4 separate regions of the Homo sapiens genome follow, and all the other regions are linked to region 1. The links are contacts of gene promoters, found by promoter capture Hi-C in blood cells and fetal thymus (Javierre and others, 2016). All regions are on one chromosome and are shown on one strand. Each heading gives the region's core, a stretch centred on a gene start or on the middle of the fragment in contact. The rest is flanking DNA. Distances are from core to core; before and after follow the strand shown. Region 1 holds the start of FHIP1A-DT (FHIP1A divergent transcript). Region 2 overlaps FBXW7 (F-box and WD repeat domain containing 7). Region 3 overlaps FBXW7 (F-box and WD repeat domain containing 7). Region 4 overlaps FBXW7 (F-box and WD repeat domain containing 7).

What was found. Contacts are between HindIII fragments. The CHiCAGO score rates a contact against its expected background, and 5 or more counts as called.
Region 2: a contact is called between a fragment that was not itself captured here and the fragment with the promoter of FHIP1A-DT in region 1, in 5 of 17 cell types (total CD4 T cells, naive CD8 T cells, non-activated CD4 T cells and 2 more). The highest score is 8.3, in total CD4 T cells.
Region 3: a fragment that was not itself captured here is called in contact with the fragment with the promoter of FHIP1A-DT in region 1 in 7 of 17 cell types (non-activated CD4 T cells, total CD4 T cells, naive CD4 T cells and 4 more); the score reaches 9.3 in non-activated CD4 T cells.
Region 4: a contact is called between a fragment that was not itself captured here and the fragment with the promoter of FHIP1A-DT in region 1, in 2 of 17 cell types (fetal thymus and total CD4 T cells). The highest score is 7.2, in fetal thymus.

What each region holds. Positions count from the first base shown.
Region 1 is chr4:151,407,109-151,410,850 of GRCh38, reverse strand. FHIP1A-DT (FHIP1A divergent transcript) reads left to right here and starts at 1,959. Exons shown (of 3, transcript NR_183963.1): 1 at 1,959-3,668. It overlaps FHIP1A (FHF complex subunit HOOK interacting protein 1A), which reads right to left and starts at 1,675. Exons shown (of 14, transcript NM_001109977.3): 1 at 1,386-1,675. RefSeq lists silencers at 1,716-1,885, 2,006-2,478 and enhancers at 1,705-2,404, 2,405-3,104, 2,936-3,245. The HindIII fragment of the contact is 9,357 bases long and covers 1-3,742 here.
Region 2 is chr4:152,387,364-152,390,949 of GRCh38, reverse strand. The region is part of intron 4 of FBXW7 (F-box and WD repeat domain containing 7); the gene reads left to right. Among named protein-coding and RNA genes, the nearest start is that of FBXW7-AS1, 51 kb to the right of the region's middle. The HindIII fragment of the contact is 2,347 bases long and covers 561-2,907 here.
Region 3 is chr4:152,371,159-152,374,749 of GRCh38, reverse strand. The region is part of intron 4 of FBXW7 (F-box and WD repeat domain containing 7); the gene reads left to right. Among named protein-coding and RNA genes, the nearest start is that of FBXW7-AS1, 35 kb to the right of the region's middle. The HindIII fragment of the contact is 1,843 bases long and covers 646-2,488 here.
Region 4 is chr4:152,404,336-152,408,244 of GRCh38, reverse strand. All of the region lies in intron 4 of FBXW7 (F-box and WD repeat domain containing 7), which reads left to right. Among named protein-coding and RNA genes, the nearest start is that of FBXW7-AS1, 69 kb to the right of the region's middle. The HindIII fragment of the contact is 1,372 bases long and covers 1,624-2,995 here.

The DNA.
Region 1 (3,742 bases), core at 710-3,209:
CTGCGGAAAGGGATTAACTGGAACTAAAAAGATATCAACCTTTAATTATGCGAAAAGTTACCTAAAGCCAACAAGTATACTGTATTAAAGAGTAAATTTATGGACTAAATATCCTGCTCAATTTCGGTCCAAAGAAGACCTTTGAAGTTCTCCAAACGTGGACTTCAGCTGTGGTTCACTACATGTGGACAGCTTCGGGGACAGCATCCTGCCTAGTGCCAGGTGTACAAGTGAACTTGAGGTCAGGCAGGTGACCCTGACAAGCAGGCATAATACATTAAGGAGAGGAAATCTTCCCTCTCATTAATCAACAGGATAAAGGTAATTAAGCAGGAATTATTTTTCAATGACCTATATAATTTCATCAGGGCTGCTATGACTATTAGCAGGGAGCAGCTGACTTCCTAATGAGATGAATTTGATAGCACAGCCCTTCCAGAGAAGCCAAGGGAGCAAGCCCAATCTATAGGGAAGCAACAATTGTTAGGCATTGTTTACTCCTCCTCCTGAAAGCTGTCTCTCCTTCTCAACATTTGGCTCTTTCCCTTCAGGGGGGTTTCCCTGTCCCTGGATAGCTGGGGCTGCAGCATCTGCTGAATAGTGGAAGCTAGATCTGCTGTGAATGGGTGGGTCCAGGAGGCTGGGACACTAATTCACTAGACCTGCTCATGTGATTCCCAAAGTCCCAAGCCAACAAGGCTACCGCCGCCTGCACCAACACCTCGCTCTGACCAGGCCTGAAATAAGACACCAAGGTAGTTCTTCCCACTCCCTAGCAGAAGCGGAGTTAACAAGGGACCTTTGTTGAGCCAGAGGAAACACAAACACATACACACTATCAATAATAACCACGACTTGAACGCAGTTTCATCACAGAATTTACGAAATTGAGCAACAGCTACCTAACCAGTAAGTCCTTACACCAGGAAAGGGCTGCAAACCTCAGAGGGGCACCGCCTCTGTCTCCTGTGTAAGCAAGTTGATTTACAGGGGAAACCTGAACTCCACATCTCTTTGCCTTTTCCTGTGCCTCCCAGAGGACCCTGGGACCAAGGAATGGGATGGAGGGCCCTAATGACATATTCCTTCGTCAAAACAAGCTGGCTCTCTCTCTCCCAGGGTCAGTCACCGCGTTACGCCCCGTCCCGGAGCCCGAAACCCTAGAAGTCACCTCCTCCCCCCTGCGCCCCCGCCCGACGCAGCGACCTCGTTTGGAACATCCCCAGCCGGCCCCCAGCCCAATGCCTGCTCCCTCAGCCCAATGCCCGCACCCCCTGCCCAGTTGGCGGATGCAGAGAAGGGACATTTCGACTCTCCCTCCTCCTTCAACCCTCTAAAATAAAAGAATCCCTCAAGCGCAAATCTCCGGCCAGCACAGCACCTACCTGTCCCCGGCCGTGGCTCCTCCTCCCCGAGCAGTGGGGCTCGCTGGACAAGTGTCCTCAGATAGTCCAGAAAGTTTGCTCTGCGGTCCCGGGGACGCCTGCGCGGGACCCAGTGAGGAAAGCCGGGCTGGCTCCTCGCACCTCGGGCGGCCGCCGCTCGAAAGTCTTGGCCCAGGTCCTCCAGGCCCGGCTCAAACTCAGGAGTGCCCGGGAAGAATGTAGGTCGTGAGAAGGTCGGAGCGCAACTTTTCGAAGGTGCGTCAGCCGCGGGCTGAGGCGCGTGGGTCACTGCCTCCCCCCAGCCTCTCCCTAGTGAGCGCGGGGGGGGCGGGGGCGGGGGCGGGGGCCGGGGCGGGGCAGGGGCGGGGGTGGGGCCCAACCTGCCTGGAGGCCTCGGGGAGCGCGCCCCGGCCCCGCCCCCGCCGCCGCCGGCCCCGCCTCTGCCGCTGGGACACGCCGCCGCCAGGTGCGCCGGGGACTTAGGCAGTGCCGCGCCGCACGGCCCGCGCCGGTTTCCAAGGTGAAGGAGGAGGAGCCTCTGAGGGAAAGTTTCCACAGAAACTTGAGCTGGGCGCAGTGTAGCACTCGCGCCCTTGGGGGCTAGCGTTTGGCCGGAGCTACACACTCTTTACTCACGCACGCACACCGCCGTACACAGCACAATCGTTCACCGTCCCGCCAAAGGCTCGTCTCTCGGGTTCTGCCTAGTGGAAGGAGTCGGACAACGCCGCACGTCACGGGCGTTTCGGATTTCTTGCTTCCCAAAGGTTTGACGGCGGCCACCGGCGCCCCGGCCCAGCTCTGCTTTCCTTTGCTGACTCCTTCCTTTAGGTGTGAATTTTAAAATGCTGATACCGCCCCAAGAGAGCTGAGTCAAGTGAGGCAAACGTTCGCCTGTTGTTCTCCTGACAGACTCCCTGCAGTGGGCAGGGGAAATGTGGCCTTGGCCGACATTAATGAAGTGCCAGGATGGAGGGAGGGGGCCTGCTGATTTGTTCTGTTTTACTTTTTAAGGGTAACTAGAGCGTTACTGGAGTCGTCTGTGGGTTTGGGGAGTATGTGGCGCGTGTGTGTGTCACACATTTCACTGGCAACTCCCGCCAACCCCTTCCCAAGAAATGAAGGCTCTAATGTGGGCAGTTCTGCAACAAAGGTGAAACTTCCCCAAATCACGATTCCCCGCAAGATGAGAGAGCAGGTGCAGCATCCATTTTCCCACTATCACGCTTGAGATGGTGGCTTTGGGCACTGCCGGGTGCCCCGACATCCTTCCCAGAGCCCAGCCTTCCCACCCAGGCCCGGCCCTGCGCGGCCGCCTGCCTTTGCATCAGAGACCGCGGCTGTGCCATTGCCAAGGTGGGCAGCGCCGCCTCGCTTCCCCATTCCTCCGTCTCCCACGCCTCTTGCGTGTTTGAGTCGCGAAGTGATGGACTTTAAATCTCAGAGGAGGAATGAGAAACTTGGTTAGTGGCTCTCTTGGCATGTTCGTAGCCCTGTGGTTGAAGTGGCTGAAACCTGCGTTGAGCCTCAGTCCAAGCAGCTGGGGCCACACCAGTTTGCAAAAGCGGATGTGGCAGTTTCCACCGCAGCAGCAGCCTGCTGGCGCCTCATCAGATTCTCCTTTGGAGGAAGTATCTTCTTCCCTTCATTCTCGGTGAATGGCATCCAGAGATAACCAAAATCAGGTGTATCTAGTTTCAAGTTCTGTCTTGCAACCGTGATAATTGGAGGATGCAAACTTTACACTTTCTTCTCTAGCTGTCTACCACCACTGCTGCGCTTGTGGATGACTGCAGGAACACCGGGTACTTGCCACAAGTATCTCTCCAGATTCATCAGCCTTTCACCTGTGACAAGCTCAGTCAAGAAGTGGCTCCTAAGTAAAAGCTGGGGAAGAACAAGGAAGATAGAGCTCAGAGTAGAAAGCTGTGAAGTTCTGCACAACAGGTCCCCTTGGCCTGCTCTAACAGTTGGAAGGTGGGGGAAGCATTCATTTACTCAACAAATATATACTGAGTGCCTTTTGCATGCTAGGCACGCTTCTAGGGGTTGAGGACACAGCAGAGAGCACAAACAACAATTCCAGCCCTCGTGGAGCTTACCTCTTCCACGTGGGAAAGACAGATGGTAAATGTATAAGGACAATATATGGACTGCTGTATGATTAGAAATGCTATGGAGAGGCTAGGAGTGCTGTCTCATGCCTGTAATCCCGCAGTTTGGGAGGCCAAAGGAGGAGGATCACTTGAGGCCAGAAGTTGGAGACCCAACCTGGGCAACATAGTAAGACCCCCTATCTACAAAAAGTTTAAAAATTAGCCAGGCATGGTGGCGTGCACCTGTAGTCCTAGCTATCC
Region 2 (3,586 bases), core at 485-2,984, 980 kb before region 1:
TTTCATAAGATAAATTTTTATAATTTGTCAAACTGTCAATTTGGTTGAGCCTTCTGCATTATAGCTTAATTTTTTAAAGCTGTGTAGCAAAAAAACACACAATTACTTACTGTATTTTAAAAGAATATTAGTATTATTTCCTTAGTCCTAATTATTAGTATAATTAGTATTATGACTCCCTGGCCTGCAATACTCTTAAGAATTTTTATAAGAGAAAGATATTATTGGTAAGTAATGTTTAATTTATTTTAACTGAAAGTTTAAACTGTTATGTTTAAACTGTTTATGGACTTAAGTACTGACATTAAAGAAGTTATTGTCTTTCTTAGACTTAAATTTTATTTTGAGAATTATGGAAAATTAGGTTACTTTAAATCACTTACTCTGTCATTACATGAGGCTTTTTGCATGACTGAAATACCTGTAATTACTGTGTCATTTTTGTCATAGTTGACTTAAAGGTGTAACTATAATAATCACGAACTAAATTCTTGGTGAGCAGCTGTGTAAGGCCATTTTAACAGCTGGGGTAACCCAGCTCAGCCTGTAAGAGTTAAGCTTAATCATGAGACAGGTTATGTTAAGTCATTGAAGACTTCATACTGGGCATTTCTGAAATACTTAGAAAATTCAGTGGGATAGTTGGATTTTTGTTTTATCTTAAGTACTTTTTAAAATGCTTAATGAAAGGATGAGGAAAAGTATTTTAACAACTAAAGTTCTTAGGCACAAATAATAGAAATAAAATCCAAAGTTTACTCATTAAAAAAAAAAAGTCAAATATACTCTATATGCTAGTGTTTAGACCACTACAGTAGGTAGGAGAGGAAAAAAATATATAAACACACACACATATTATTATAGTATAATATGGAATCAGAAAAATCCTGAGGTTATTTTTCTTGAATTTCATCTTTTAAAAATTTTTTTAAAAATCATTATGCCTGTAGCTTCTTTCCAATAAAAATGTTTTCTTATTACTATACAAAAACATTTAGAGCACAGGCATACATGCCTTTTGTAAAAGAAGGCAGACACAAAAGAATTGAAACAATGCATTTTATTTGGATATATTTTATAAACTAGCTATATTGTTCACTAAACTATAATAAAGGAAAGCTCACCAAATTGAACCTTCTTACAAGAAGGCCATATATGTAATATTATTAGAGCTGTAATATGCTTTTTTTTGGTATAAATTTAAGGGGTACTCTAGTTTTTTTTACATGGATATATTACATAGTGGTGAAATTTGGGCCTTTAGTGTACCTGTCACCCAAATAGTATACATTGTACCCGTTAAGTGATTTCTCATCTCTCAGCATCCTCCCTGCATGTCACCCTTCTGAGTCTCTTAATATCTATTACTACACACTCCATGTTCATGTGTACACTTTACTTAGCTTTCACTTGTAAGTGAAACGTGGTATTTGACTTTCTGTTTCTGTGTTGTTTCACTGAAGAATCACCTCCAATTCCATCCATGTTGCTGCAAAAGACATTTCATTCTTTTTTATAGCTGAATAGTATTCCATTTGTGTGTGTGTGTAAACATATATATATGTGGGTTAGTTATCATAGTTGACTTAAAGTTATAACTATTATAATCACCAACTAAATTCTTGGGCATCTTTAAAATAATGATTTCTTTTCTTTTGGGTAGATGCCCAGTAGTGGGATTGCTGGATCAAATGATAGTTCTATTATTAGTTCTCTGAGAAATCTCCATAATGTTTTCCATAGAGATTGTACTAATTTGCATTCCCACCAACACCGTATAAGCATTTCTTTTTCTCCACATCCTCGCCAACATCTATTATTTTTTGTCTTTTTAATAATAGCCATTCTGAATGGTGTGAGATGAGATCTCATTGTGGTTTTACTTTGCATTTCTTTGATAATGATGTTGAACATTTTTTCATGCTTGTAGGCATGAAAAAATATGTATGTCTTCTTTTGAGAAGTATTTATTCATGTTCTTTTCCCACTTTTTAATGAAGTTAATTTGGTTTTTGTTGTTGAGTTGCCTGTCAATTCTGCATATCAGCCCCCTGTTAGAAGCATAGTTTGCAAATATTTTCTCCCATTCTGTAGGTTGTCTTTTCATTCTGTTGATTTAGAGATGTAATGTACTCTTAAACCTGCAAGGGACTTAATCTCAATCATCTGAAGAGAAGTCAGATAGTCTATATCTATTAAATATTTAGCCTCCTCTTTGTAGAAATCTGAAGTATAAACTCCAGGTAATTGTACTGCAAGACATTAAATAGTTAAGGTTCCTGAATCTTGGAGTTTCTGGTGTACCATGGGATGGTTTTGTCATCTGTCAACTTATAATTTATTAGCACTTGTTTTGGTTGGTTTTCTGTGTTTTACTTTTTAATTTATAATGTATTTTCAGCAAAATTTTTGGAAATAACTGGAATATAAAACAGCTTAAATGTCTAACATTGAGATGTTGATTCCATAAATCAGAGCAGTTACAATACCTTATATAATCTAGTATTCTGGCATTTTTATTTTGAGAATGCTACCTATCTGTGCATATAGGCATGTACATGCAATGCTTTTATTTTGCAAATGTCCAATTATCAGGTCACATTTTTATAACACTTGTGTATGTTGTATGTGCTGCTTCAGAACCCAAGCATATTTCTCTTAGTTAGGGGCCGCCCTTGTTGCCCAAATGAAGAAAATTAGCAGGGAAGTGCAGTATGTTGTCCATTGAATGTTTACATACATGTAATGTCTCAAATACATTATAATTGGAAGTTGTAATCTGAGTGAGCACTTTGAGCATGTAAATAAATATCTTTTAGAACATTTTTAGTAATCATTTTAAATGTGATTTTAATCTTATAAAAACATTTTAATTTATTTGACATACCTTTTGTGAATACTAAAGCTTAAAAAAAAAATACTAAAACTTTAAAAGATATCCTGACCAGGCGCTGTGGCTCACGCCTGTAATCCCAGCACTTTGGGAGGCCGAGGTGGGCGGATCACAAGGTCAGGAGTTCGAGACCAGCCTGGCCAACATAGTAAAACCCTGTCTCTACTAAAAATAACAAAAATTAGCTGGGCGTGGTGGTGGGCACCTGTAATCCCAGCTGCTCAGGAGACTGAGGCAGGAGAATTGCTTGAACCTGGGAGGCGGAGGTTGCAGTGAGCCGACATTACACCACTGCACTCCAGCCTAGGCAACAGAGCAAGACTCAGTCTCAAAAAAAAAAAAAAAAAAGGTATGCCATGTTTTTTTTCTTTGATGCCCAATCTAATTGTATTTATGTTTCTGCATTTAAAGTAATATGTTGCTTGCTGGATGTTTTTTTTTTTTTTTTTACAGTTTTTGCTAATACAAGCTTGATAATTTATCATTAAGCAGAGGGTTTAATTTATTGATTTATGATTGTTTTCCTCTGTGTTTAAATTGTTCCGTCTTCAACCATGAATTGCGTTCATTTGTGAATTGCTTGGTAGGGAAATACTTTAATACTCTGATATCTATGATGTTAGGAAGACTAAAAACTGATTTGGTAGATAAAATAATCTGCTTTACTCTGTATCTGTGAAATAAGTGAGTATG
Region 3 (3,591 bases), core at 318-2,817, 960 kb before region 1:
ATTATTGCTGTTATCTTTGGTCCTTAGGCATACTATATGGGCTGCTCAATGATGTTATATGACAACTTTGTATAGATATCTCCTTGGTTAGGTTATAAACTCTTACAATTCAGAGGTTATTTTTAATACCTTTTTATGCTTCCAGAGATATGCAGGAGAAAGTTAGTATAAATATTTCTATGGCTGATTCATTGAAGTGTCTGTTAAACTTGGAAAAATCCTTAAGGAATTTTTGTGCTGTAAGAATGTGGCTTGTTTTTGTTTACTAAATGTTTTTAAGTGACTGTGCAGCTGTGATTTTGAATATTTCATTTTCTAAATTTAACGAAACTCAGATACAGTTTGACACTTAATTTTAAAAGTAATTACTATGTACTAATTTTGAAAATGAAAAAGAAACACACATGGTATAGTCATTTAGGTGGTACTTTTGGGAGTCTAGAGTAGCTCCTAAATATCAGAAAATGCTGAAATAGAGAAAAAAAATACAGTACTTTGAAGAGAAGAAAGAATAGGGTGGTGGTATGAGCAAATTTAGAGAGGGAATTTAATAGGGTACCTGTTTTGTGGTGGGGTTTTTTTGGTTTGTTTTGTTTTTGTTTGTTTGTTTTTGAGTGAGGAAACTAAAATGTGGCTTTCTAAGCTTCTCTTACTTGCATATATCTTCCATTGGTACTTGGAAAATATAAACATTTCCAGATCCTTTGGTGTTTTTTATGGTCACTACTTACTTTATCAATAAAGGCATTAATTACTGTCAGTTATCACATATCAGACCATTCTATTTTAGATCCTTTGGTCTTTTTCTCTTTAAGAATGTTTCACACATCATGCATCAACATGAGTAAGCAATGTAATTGTCGGTTTTCTTTGCATTCTCTGTGCTGTGCAAGCCACCGGCTATAAATAAGATGATGATCCCCCATGCCCATGCACAAATGAAAAGTCACAGTGATAAAACTACAAACAAACCATTATAGTACAAAATAATAACTGCTTAAATGGACCTACGTACAAAGTACTGTCAGAGTATGAGGAGGCACTCAGAGCTCAATATGAGTGGTTCAGGAAGGGCTTCACAGTAACCCTGAATTAAAACATGAAGATGTTTGCTAAGTAGGTGATCAGAGGAGTGATAGAGGGAACTTGTATCATTGCTTGGGATCGTGTCTTGTCTTATGTTTTTTCATATTAAGTATACTGCTGCAAATTACATCTTGCCGTCAATTTATTAATGTTGAAAAAATACGTATTGAGCACCTAGAGTAGAGAACTTTCCTAGAAACTGTAGATATAACAGTGAACTTGATAGACAAAGGCCATGCCCTCATGGAGCTTAGATTGTAGTTTGGGGAGACAGAAAATAAATACTACTGTTAATATTTTGATGACAGTAAAATAGGGTAATAGAATAAGGTATGATTTGGGATGTAGAAGAGGCACTACTCTAGTTACTTTCTATACATAAACTCATTTAATCCTTAAAATCACCTTGTGAAGTACGTTGTATTGTATTTTACCTGTTTTACACGTGAGGAATCTCAGGCATAGGAAGGTTCTTGCCCCTTAGCTAGTAAGTAATGTAGCTAGGACACTAACTCAAGCAGTCTTATTCCAGCATCACAGCCACTGCAGGAAACGGATCTGGAGTAGGCATTTGTTGAACAGACCCTTAGTGTCCAAATGTTTTAAGGGTTAACTTTTGCCATATAATCTTGGAATTTTAAATGTGTAATTCTCACCTTTCCCAACAATTTATGATGGTCTCAATATCTAATTACTGATAATACTGCCTTCTGTATGTTTTTGTCATCAGATGATGTTTTAGTATTGGGTTGTGCCCTAGTTGTCAGATAGGAGTACAAAGCGACTTAGCACATGATTTATAAATCTGTAACTACACTATGGAAACAACTTGTATGATTTTGTCTTTTATGTAACAAATTTTTAATTAGGTAACAATTTGTATAATTTTGACATCAAAGGGCAAGGCTATTTAAATTTGTAAATATAAACTAAGTTAGGTTTTACAGAAACTAACTTAATGTTGAGGCTTGTAATATAGAAGACAGATGAAAAATATGCTAAAAATAAACTTGGAACTAAGCTCCTGGCAAGGTAAACAAGTGTGAAATAAGTCCACAGTCCCTTGTCTGCAAAGCAGAAATCCATCATGCTCTGAAAACTGAAAATTTAAAAATAAAGGTAGCAAAACCTAACCCAAACTAACATAAAACAGTCATCTTTATTATTTATCTGAATATTCATATATTTTGCTGGAGAAACACTAATGTGTGATATACTGGAAGTGCTCTGTAATAAATAGTATATGCACTCTGTTACCTTTCTACAATTCAAAATATTCTGAATTTAGGAACACAGCTGTCTCCAAGAGCATGGAACTAAATCCAGAGACCTTAGAGTTTTACAACTGTCACCCACTCATAAAAAACTGAACACACTTTGAAATGTCAGAGTAGTCTAAGCTTTATCTTAAGTCTCTGAGTACATGCATATTAAATACTTTAAAACATACATATATAGATGAGTACCTAAAGTTTATTAACCTAATTATAGGCTATTATAACCATATAATACAATGATAGTTTGGAGCTTTTATATTACTTTTCTTCAGTGATTAAAATACAGCTCATGCTAATAGACTTATTCTTTAAATGAGTGTAGAGAACCTCAACCACATTTTTTTTAATTGTCCCAGTATTTCCATGGGAAATTAACACCACAAAATTAATTTTAATCTGCTGATATATAGTATGCATACTCTCTGTGTGTGTTGCTACTGTTACAAAGATGAATAAGACAGCACACCTTTCCCTTAAGGAATCCACAAATGCCTTCATGTCTCTGAGAGACTTGTCTCATCATCCACATTTCATGGTCACATATCAAAATTAGATGAACATGGCTTAATTAATTTATTCAACAAATAAGCATCTGCTAATAGCCAGGCCCAGTTCTAGGCACTTGGGATACATTAGTGAACAAAACAGGAAAAAAAGTCCTTTCAACATTTTAGCGGTCCTGAGAAGTCCTCCAAGGCAAGAGGCAGTTTGTGCCAACATACAGTGTGTCATCAGACTCCTTTATTAAATTATACACTTTTCATTTCTAAATCATTTGGTGATAATTTGTATTATAGTTTTTTCATATGTATACATAACTACATACATGTACATACAATTTACCTGATTTGATAGAATTAAGTTAGTGGCCTTATTGAAATGTATAATCTGCCGGTTTTCAAATACTGTTAGATAGTATCTATTACAAGCAAAATATTATTTTGATGCTCTGAAATGATAAATAGGATTCCATTTAACTCCCTTTTTAAATATTTTTGTGAAACAACTTTCTTTTGGTGTTTTTAATAATTCTATCAGGCACAGCTTAGTGATTTCTTTCTGAATTATTCCTGGATCAGAATTAGACTTCTTGTCTTTTTCCATGCCACTATGGAAGGTTGCAGAAACTAGCATGTATCTCACATATAAATTAGTTATATAATGGTAGATAAAATTTATGGTAGATATATTTGTGTTATATTTTGGTATAAATAACAGTAGATATAAT
Region 4 (3,909 bases), core at 1,060-3,559, 1.0 Mb before region 1:
GATGATTATTAGGCCAGATCTGGTATCCTGATCTTTTGATGAAGAGAAGTGTGTTTGAGCATTAATTTCTGATGCTTCCATATCTATCTTAGTGGCTTCCACCTGTTCTCTTCTCACATAACTTCCTTACCTCAAATTAGTCTATTTTTTTCCCATCTTGATTGTTAGATTCTTCCTAGTAATTAAATCGTTTTTATCCATTTGCCTCAAATAAGAAATAAATGTTTATCAAAAAATAAATATATATAAAAGATAGCCAGGTGTGGTGGCTCACACCTGTGATCCCAGCACTTTGAGAGGCTGAGGTGGGCAGATTGCTTGAGACCAGCCTGGGCAACATGGCAAAACCCTGTCTCTACAAAAAATACAAAAATTAGCTGAGTGTGATGGCATGCGCCTGTGGTTCCAGCTACTTTGGGGGCTGAGGTTGGAGGATCATTTGGGCCCAGGAGGTTGAGGCTGCAGTGATCTGGGCCACAGAGCAAGACCCTGTTTCAGAATAAATAAATAGAGGGTGGGGGGAGGTGTGGAGAAGCATCTAGTGTATTGGAGTTTAGAGGCGTAAGACCCTTTCTTGTCTATAAATTCTGAACAATAGAGGAATCAGGTAATAGGATCATTAACCAATCAGGGTATCTGGTCCGCCATTCTCCAACCACCTCCTAGGACCAGAGCTGCTGAGCAGCTTTGTAGGATAATGTGGCTAACATTGGAAATATAACAGGGCTCTAAGTTACACTCTGTTGTAGAGTTCTAGAGAATGATAGCTTCTTCAGAAAGTCCCTGGCCTAGTCTACCTGCAAGACAAGCAACTTAAGTTCAAAGTCTGTTTGGTATATACATGTCCAGAGAGCAAAAAATGCTATTTAAGGCAGTCATCTTGAATAACATCCACTAGTAAACATGGCCCAATGAATAGCCATGTCCCCTACCTTTGTGAAGGAGGAAAAATGAAACATTGACTCAGCCTAATTTAGCCCAATTTTAAACATGTGGGGAGGATAATGGAAATGGGAGAAATGGGGACAATGGGTGAGATGGGTTTTCCCCTAACATATTAGAGTGATAAGAACTTTTCACATCTGAGTTTGAATTCTGATTATACCACTTACTGTATAACCATGAGTATATAATCTCAGTGAACCTATTACTTTATCTGTAAAATAAAGACTCATGCCTACCTCTCAAGGTTTTTGTAAGGATTAAGTGAAATAATTTATGTAAAACAAGTAGCATAGTGCCTGGGACACTCAGATATTTTGCAGATATCGGCCTTGTGACCTCATTTTTTCCGTCTCCTGTGCCTTACCCCAAATCCCACAAAATAAACTTCATTCCCCGCAGCGGTTGTCAATCTCTATATATATGTTTTACAACCTTCAGCATTCAGTCATCATATCACCCTCTAGTGTAAAAAGTAGAGAAATAAATTCTTTTAAAAAGGTACATAGGAGGATTAGAAGAGTACTGTAATAAGCTAGGCCCATCTTCAATAAAAATAGACATAAATTTTGAAGTCGATGCTACCCACAGATCTCCCTAGTTGATAAAATATGTACCCTTTCCTTTCATTAGAATTTAAGTCAATTTCTCTAGACTTTCTTCTAATCTTTAACTAAAGCTTCTGTATATTTAAATGCTTTAATGAATCTTCCATATGGATGCCAAAATGAATTTTAGCTCATGGTTAATTTCTAATTAATGCCTGTTAATATAGTTTTAAATGTATTTGTTAATATTATTTTAAACAATAATAGCTCTAAATGTTGGTGATAAACTGTATCTCATTCACTGCAGGTAATGACAGTTACTATTATTAATTATTTAAGAGACGGGGCCTTGCTGTGTTTCCCAGGCTGTCCTTGAACCCCTGGGCATAAGAGATCCTCCTGTGTAGCTGGGACTACAGGCGTGGACCACCGTGCCCAGCTCAAAAAGTATTTTAATTATGAGGTTTCATTGTAGACTAAAGAATAATCTTCACACCAAATGGACCATTTTAAAATTGTTTTATAGCATTCCATTGATTAGTTCTTTATACAGATGATAAACTTCACTGAAGTATACACAAATATCACAAATAGTTATCTTCAAAATGCTTCCAAAGAAAATTGTTTCATATGTGTATTATAATGATCTGATCCATTTTTAATGTTGTTTTTGTTGGTGGTAGGGAAGACAGTATGAAGAAAAAGGACATAGGAATAGATCATGATGAATATTGTTTTCACTTTGGTAGTTAACTCCAAAATTATTTCTCAAGCTCCGATCATTCACCTTAGCCATAGTTTTGCATTTCTAGCTGTCTGTTGGGCATCATCATCTGAGTGGTCCACTGAAAACTAAAAGTACTGTTTCTTTCTCCAAACCAAGTTTTTATTTGCCTCCCCAGGTTATCTTTTCCCTCTCAATAGGTCCCATCTTCTGGTCAGTGGATAGAAAAGTGGCTTGACTTTTTCTTATCATCTGAGTCTGGGCCTGCTGAATAATTTAACAGACTTGATCACTTAGTCTCTCTTTTTCTTACCCGCCAGGCAATTGTAAGATAAAAATTGGAGGGTCAGTGTTTAAAAACGTTAAGAGCATTTTTGCTTGGGCTTCTGTTTGCATCAGGCTATAACGCCACGTCCTTGACAATGAGTTGGCAGTATGAATAATTGGATGAGTTTTTTAAAATGAATTTTTAGCTCTGTATAGATAATAACCTCAATACAGATATCTGGTGCCCCATTTCCCACTGATAAAGCCAAACCTAAATGAGAATGTTTGAAGTCTTCCAATATCTTACCATAGTTTTTACCTGGTTTCATCTCCTCTCCTCTCTACTTGTTTTGAATCATACTCCTTCCCACCAGCCATATCCTTCAAATCGAAGTCCAAATCCCCTATCTTAATACCTTCCTAGATTTAGAAAATCGAATTCCTTTCAACCTGTTCTTGCTTCTCTTCATGGTGCAGTTCATTTGGTATTACCTGGTGACATTTTTGGTAAGCTTTGTCTTAAGTTGACATATAATTCTTCACTTTTTTGAGCAGTAGAAATTTGGTAAATTTGTTTTCAGTCCTAATTCAGTTTGAGAATTGAAGACTGGCAAACTGTAATGTGAACAGTTGTCATTTCACCTCTTTTTTTTTTTTTTTTTTTTTTTAAGACAAGGTCTTGCTTTGTTGCCCAGGCTGGATGGAGTGCAGTGGCATAATCATGGCTCACTGCAGCCTCCACCTCCCAGGCTTAAGCAATTCTCCCACCTCAGCCTCCCGAGTAACTGGGACCACTCGTGGCACCACCACGCTTGGCTAATTTTTGAATTATCTGTAAAGACAAGGTCTTACTATGTTGCCCACCCTGGTCTCAAACTCCTGAGCTCTGGTGATCTTCCTGCCTGGGCCTCCCAAAGTGCTGGGATTACAGGTATGAGCCACCATGCCCCAGCCTCATTTCACCTCTTAAGATGTACCTAAGCTAGACTAGAAATTGTAAATGGGCACGTCATTAAAATTGAGTTTAAGACTCAGGTATTCAGTATATGTACAGATCGTTAAATTGAGACTGCCCTGAGGAGAAGTTAAAAATCCCACTTTAGGAATCATTTTGCTAACATGCAGAAATCAGTTGAAGGCAATTCATACAGCCATTAAACATCACATTTGAAAGAATATTTAATAACAGGAAATGCTTAAAAATATTTTATTTAAAATATAGGATTCAAAACTCTATACAGTGTGATCTTAATTATGAAGCAAACATACATTTTTATATATGTGTGTGTGTATGTATCTACATATATACATATGCAAAGAAAAAGATCAGAAGAAGTTGTACCAAATGTTAGGAATTATCTCTGAATGTGGTTGAATAAAAGGTTATTTTTTCTTAAATACATTTTATAATTTCTCCATTTTGTTATA